Regions from separate parts of the Homo sapiens genome. Here region 1 is linked to region 2. Evidence: promoter capture Hi-C in 16 types of primary human blood cells and fetal thymus (Javierre and others, 2016). All regions are on one chromosome and are shown on one strand. Each heading gives the region's core, a stretch centred on a gene start or on the middle of the fragment in contact. The rest is flanking DNA. Distances are from core to core; before and after follow the strand shown. Region 1 overlaps SLC14A2 (solute carrier family 14 member 2). Region 2 holds the start of HAUS1 (HAUS augmin like complex subunit 1).

Region 1 (2,700 bases), core at 133-2,632, 430 kb after region 2:
GAAATTAGCTGGGCATGGTGGTGCATGCCTACAGCCCCACCTACTCAGGAGGCTGAGGTGGGAGGATCACTTGAGCCTGGGAAGTTGAGGCTGCAGTGAGCCGTGATCATGCCACTGCACTCCAGCCTGGGCAACAGAGTAAGACCCTGTCTCAAAACAACAACAACAACAGTAAAACGCCCCCCAAACTCCACTTGTATGTGTTATAGACTGCTTTCCCATTTTTGGTCTATACGTACATCACTGGATGCTTCCAGGTCTTTCTTTAACTTGTAGAAGGAGGGTTGACTCTACCTCTGCCCACAGGCAAGTCCTTTTACCTCCCTTAGCCTCAGGCACCACGGCTACAAAATAAAGCTGGAGTTTTCAGCTTCTAAAAATGATAAAATGGAGTAATATTTGGAAAAGTATTTTGGTGAAAACCAATAAATGTTAGATATTATTACTGTGTAGTCTGTCTAAAAGTTCAAGGATCCACCTACAGGGGCTTAAAATTCACTTTAGTGTATTCTCATGTTTCCTGAGATCGTCAGGCTCATTGGCACTTTTGGGAGATGATGTGACTCAGTTTCCTTGAAACCAGTGAGTGCACCTTGATTTATCAGAGGCTTCTGGAATAGAGAGAGGTGCCATGCTGGGAAAGGGGGTGGGGAGTTTAATGAGTTCGGATGGAGGAAGACCTAGCTTCATGTCTCAGCCTTGTCTTTTACACGCAGTTGAGCCACTTCACCTCTTTGTCAAGGCTGGGACTTGGGGAGGTGAGTGAAGCACCTGGGGTGCAAAATTTCAAGTGGCCTTCACTCTCAGGGTCATGGGGATATGTCAGGGTCATCACCTGCTTGGCCCTGAGAGTAAGCACCTCCTTAAATTTTGCATCCCACGTGTCTCCCTTGTCTCACCTTAGTCTTGCTCTTTGACACAACTTTTCCTCGTTTGCAAAATACGAATAGTAATACCAACCTTGAGAATTAGTGTTAAGGTAGAGATGACGTATTTAAAGTGCCTACTTTGTGGTGGGTGTTAGGTGAATGGCTACCTTTTATTTGGGCAATATGACAGCTACTTTTTTTTTTTTTAAGTAACTACAGTGTGCTGGCCTTAGGTTGGTGTAGCAAAAAGTAATTTTAAGAAGAGCAAATGAAAAAGACAGCAGCTTTACCCTTCGTATCTTGTTTAGAGTTCGTAGTCACTGTCATAAAATGCAAAAGAAAATATATCTACAAATTATCTTAAGGAAACAAATATGTGGCCATAGCTGATCCAGAACATCTTCCCGAGCAAGAATATTTGGAAAATTTTTATTATAAATTTATTTTTAAAAATAAGTTTATATAGATAATGTTCACAGAGTCTACAGATGTATTGAAATAGAACTTCTGTTTTAAATGTTCTGCTCAAAAGGAGTTTTGTTTGGTTTCCAGTCATATAACATCAAGAAATAAAGGATGTTCAAGGATGAGGACATACAAATCTACCAACTTGTTACAGTCGATCTAATTTCCTGGGACTCTGAACAAATATATAACAAAGAGGAGTCATTTGAAGGGTCTGTGGTTAATGTTTGAATGCTTAAGGTGAATCGCTGTAGAAGACGTAAATCACCCAATTCCATATGTAACGAGTAACCTGCATAAGAGTTGCTCAGCCAGTTTGCTCCAACCCCCGCCAGGAGAGTAGCAATCACAGGAGACAGCCCAGGAACAACAATCAAACCTCCACCACCGTCTTCATGTGACTGAACGTTGAGTATTCAGTGAAAATAGTGTTTAATCTATTAATTACTAAATAACCATTAAAAAACATAAAAAAACAGTTTTATGTAAAAAGCCTTTTATAAAGGAAACAAATCCTCTGTGGGGAGTACCTACCGCAGGCGATGGCGAGGAGGTGCGTCTGCCAGGTGATGACGTAGAACATGCCTCCTATCGCTATGCATGCGAGGGTGCTGTTGAAGCCACACAGGCCGAAGTAGATGGAGTCAAAGGGCGTCGCAATAGTGAGTGCTGTGACAGAAGGCAGGCATCAGGGTTGGGTCTAGGGTCTTATGGGGCCCATCTGCTGGCCCTGAAACCTACCACAGTCCTCAAAGCCCGGAGCCAGTTATCTTCTTAGGTAGTTATACAAAAAGGACTTCTGGCTTTATTCTGTGAAAAAACATCTAAAGGAAACAAATGGCCATAGAGTCCCATGAATACTAGCAGTTAAGCTGGCATGGGTTGAAGAGATTCTTTGAGTAAGGACAGAAGTCTGATTTAAACAGTCCAGAGAATATCCTTCCCCTGCCAAGAAAGAGAACCTCTCCTCCTTCATCGATACCTTAATTCTCTAATGGAGAACGAATCTTTCTTGCTGTCATTGCAGATCACTTAACATGTAAATATACCTGGAAGAAACTTCCCCCAAACTTTAAATTTATACTAAGGTGTGAATGACTAACACCAAAGCCTTTCTTGAGGGCAGCTGTGGCTCAGGGGAGGATAAAGGGGCTAGATCAAAAACGGAGAAACAGGGTACAACAGAAGGAGGGAAAGTTCACAGGAATCAGCAGGTGGAGTGTTGAAGATGAGAGTCACCATTTTATTTGGAGCTGGCCCCAGGCTCTAACCCCCTCACAGCCCAGGGAAGTGAGGACACAGACCTGCTAGCATCCCCATGGTGGATCCAATTGCTGCATGCAAGCAAATGAGAGGTGAGGATATG
Region 2 (2,700 bases), core at 162-2,661:
CAGCCTGGCCAATATTGTGAAACCCTGTCTTTACTAAAACACAAAAATTAGCCGGGTGTGGTGGTGCAGGCCTGTAGTCCCAGCTACTTGGGAGGCTGAGGCATGAGAATCACTTGAACCCAGGAGATGGAGGTTGCAGTGAGCTGAGATCACACCACTGCACTCCAGCCTGGGCGACAGAGCAAGATTGTCTAAAATATATACACACACACACACACACACACACACACACACACACACACACATACATATACATATATATAAACATAAAACAATAAAGTTACTACTATAACAGAGTGGAAGAAAATCTGGGAAAAATAAAGGAGCAAAACAAGTAGTCTACAGTAAATTAATCCTGTATACTTTAGTGTTATAAAATTTGGTTACCTCTATTTATTCTCGTTCAAAACTCTGGACTTAATCTCACCTTCTGACTCGTATTCACTTGCTTTCTGCTTCAAGTCCTCTATTACCAGGTAGACATCCCTGTCCCGGACCCTGTTGCGTTCTGAAAGGTGATGTAAAATCTCTGTGGTCCGTGGGTTCACCTCATACTGTGGAATAGGATGATCTCCAAATATTTTTTTTAACCACGCAGCAACCTAACCATTAAAAGAAAGACAAATATTATAAGCCTTGTTTACTGTAATGGCTCGATGAGAATATGACAAAGAAGTGATCAAAAGCAAACTAAATGCTTTCTGTGACTATTTTGGAGTCCTACTTCACAACCTCACTTGTCTTTAGGGAGATACTAGATATCAGGAAATAAAAAGTGAGCAAGTACACAAAGAAACGTACAATACTGAAAATTACCAGAGAACAATCCGTTCTTTTCCAAATCTGCAAAAGCGGTACAGGCTAACAATTTGCCTCGCTTGAAAAACCTTAAAGCTTAATAGACCATAATAATGCGAACGCATTATTAGACCGTGCATGGTCTGAAAAAAGCAATTGTCCCTCGATCACCAGAAGCCCCGCCGCGCCGGGAGGCTCCCAGTGTTGGGATGCAGGGCGCGGAAGCAGTTCAGATGTGGAAGCCGCCGGGCTGAGCAGCGAACCGGAAGGCGGGTTTGGCTTCATAAGTCCCACTCCAGAGTCTGTGGACACGGGCTGCTCAACGCCTCTCCCGGGCCAGATCCAAACAAGGGGAGGCCCGGGCAGGAAGGGAAAGGCCTTCAGGAGAGTCTAAGCACGGGGGGCTTGCAGATAGTGACGGCGGCACTAAAAGACGGATGTGTGGAATAGGGGAGAGAAAAGTAGACGTGGCGCGCACAGGAGACCCGCTGTCGGCGCGGGGGTGTCAAAAACGCGTTTTCCAGGAGGCCAACGATCCCCATTCCCGCCCCATCACCTGCGTTTCTCTCTCCTCCTGCGGCTCCATAGCTGCGGCTCCCGCCACTTTACTAGGAACTCCTAGCGGGAGATGCGCCCCGCTCACTCCCTAGGCCCCGCCCACACGCCGTTGGCACCCGCCCCTCGCCGGGCCCGGGATTTCTGGGAGTTGTGGTTTTACCTGAGACTCCTGGCCGTTGAGCCCCTGTGCAAGGCTGGTCGAAGGCTCTGGCATTGCAAGCCTCGCTTCGTTGCCACTTCCCAGCTCTTCCCGCCTTCCGCGGTATAATCAACACTACGAGAGATAGAGCCGCCTAGAACCAGGTTGTTTTTTCTTTCTTTTATTTTTATTTCTTGTTTGAATCACTTGTCGTTAAAAAAAAGTACTTGAAACGTTTGGTTCTTGCTTAGCAAGATGTTTGTGTTTCTTCCACATTGATTGCATCCACTCAGAATTTATATTCTACCCTGGCAATATGAGCTGAGGCAATCTTAACTTGATCCGTTAGTTCCCCCAACCTAAAAACTAGGGACATTTTTTTTTTTTGAGACAGAGTCTCGCTTTGTCGCCCAGGCTGGAGTGCAGTGGCATGATCTCGGCTCACTGCAACCTCTGCCTCCTGGGTTCAAGCGATTCTTCTGTCTCAGCCTCCCAAGTAGCTGGGACTACGGGCAAGCGCCACCACGCCTGGCTAATTTTTGTGTTTTTAGTAGAGACGGGGTTTCACCATATTGGCCAGGCTGGTCTCGAACTCCTAACCTCATGATCCGCCCACCTCGGCCTCCCAAAGTGCTGGGATTACAGGCGTGAGCCAGCGCGCCCAGCTTTTTTTTTTTTTTTTTTTTTTTTGAGATGGAGTCTCTGTTGTTCAGGCTGGAGGGCAGTGGCACGATCTCGGCTCTCGGCTCTCAGCTCACTGCCACCTCTGCTTCCCGGGTTCAAGCGATTCTCCTGCCTCAGCCTTCCGAGTAGCTGGGATTACAGGTGTGCATCACCACGCCCAGCTAATTTTTTGTATCTTAGTAAAGATGGGATCTCATCAGGTTGGCCAGCTTGGTCTCGAACTCCTGACTTCAGGTGATCCGCCCGCCTTGGCCTCCCAAAGTGCTGGGATTACAGGCACTGCGCCCGACCTTTTCTTTTCTTTTTGAGATGGAGTGTTTCTCTGTCGCTTAGGCTGGAGTGCAGAGTGACATGATCTTGGCTCACTGCGACCTCCAACCCCCGTCCCCAGGCTCAAGCAATTCTCCTGTCTCATCCTCTCTAGTAGCTGGGATTACAGGCTTGTGCTAGCATGCAGGGATAATTTTTTTATTTTTAGTAGAACGGGGGGTTTCACCACGTTGATCAGGCTGGTCTCAAAC

Evidence for each region. The method cuts DNA at HindIII sites, captures the fragments that hold promoters and counts their contacts. A CHiCAGO score of 5 or more calls a contact.
Region 1: a fragment that was not itself captured here is called in contact with the fragment with the promoter of HAUS1 in region 2 in 1 of 17 cell types (total CD8 T cells); the score reaches 5.6 in total CD8 T cells.

What each region holds. Positions count from the first base shown.
Region 1 is chr18:45,672,986-45,675,685 of GRCh38, reverse strand. It overlaps SLC14A2 (solute carrier family 14 member 2), which reads right to left. Exons shown (of 20, transcript NM_007163.4): 17 at 2,639-2,700; 18 at 1,869-2,003. The region is part of intron 7 of LOC105372093 (a long non-coding RNA gene); the gene reads left to right. Among named protein-coding and RNA genes, the nearest start is that of SLC14A1, 50 kb to the left of the region's middle. The HindIII fragment of the contact is 3,136 bases long and covers 1-2,700 here.
Region 2 is chr18:46,103,096-46,105,795 of GRCh38, reverse strand. HAUS1 (HAUS augmin like complex subunit 1) reads right to left here and starts at 1,411. Exons shown (of 9, transcript NM_138443.4): 1 at 1,355-1,411; 2 at 428-602. The coding sequence starts at 1,384. It also overlaps a transcript of ATP5F1A not described here. RefSeq lists an enhancer at 1,007-1,096 and a silencer at 1,487-1,586. The HindIII fragment of the contact is 1,925 bases long and covers 897-2,700 here.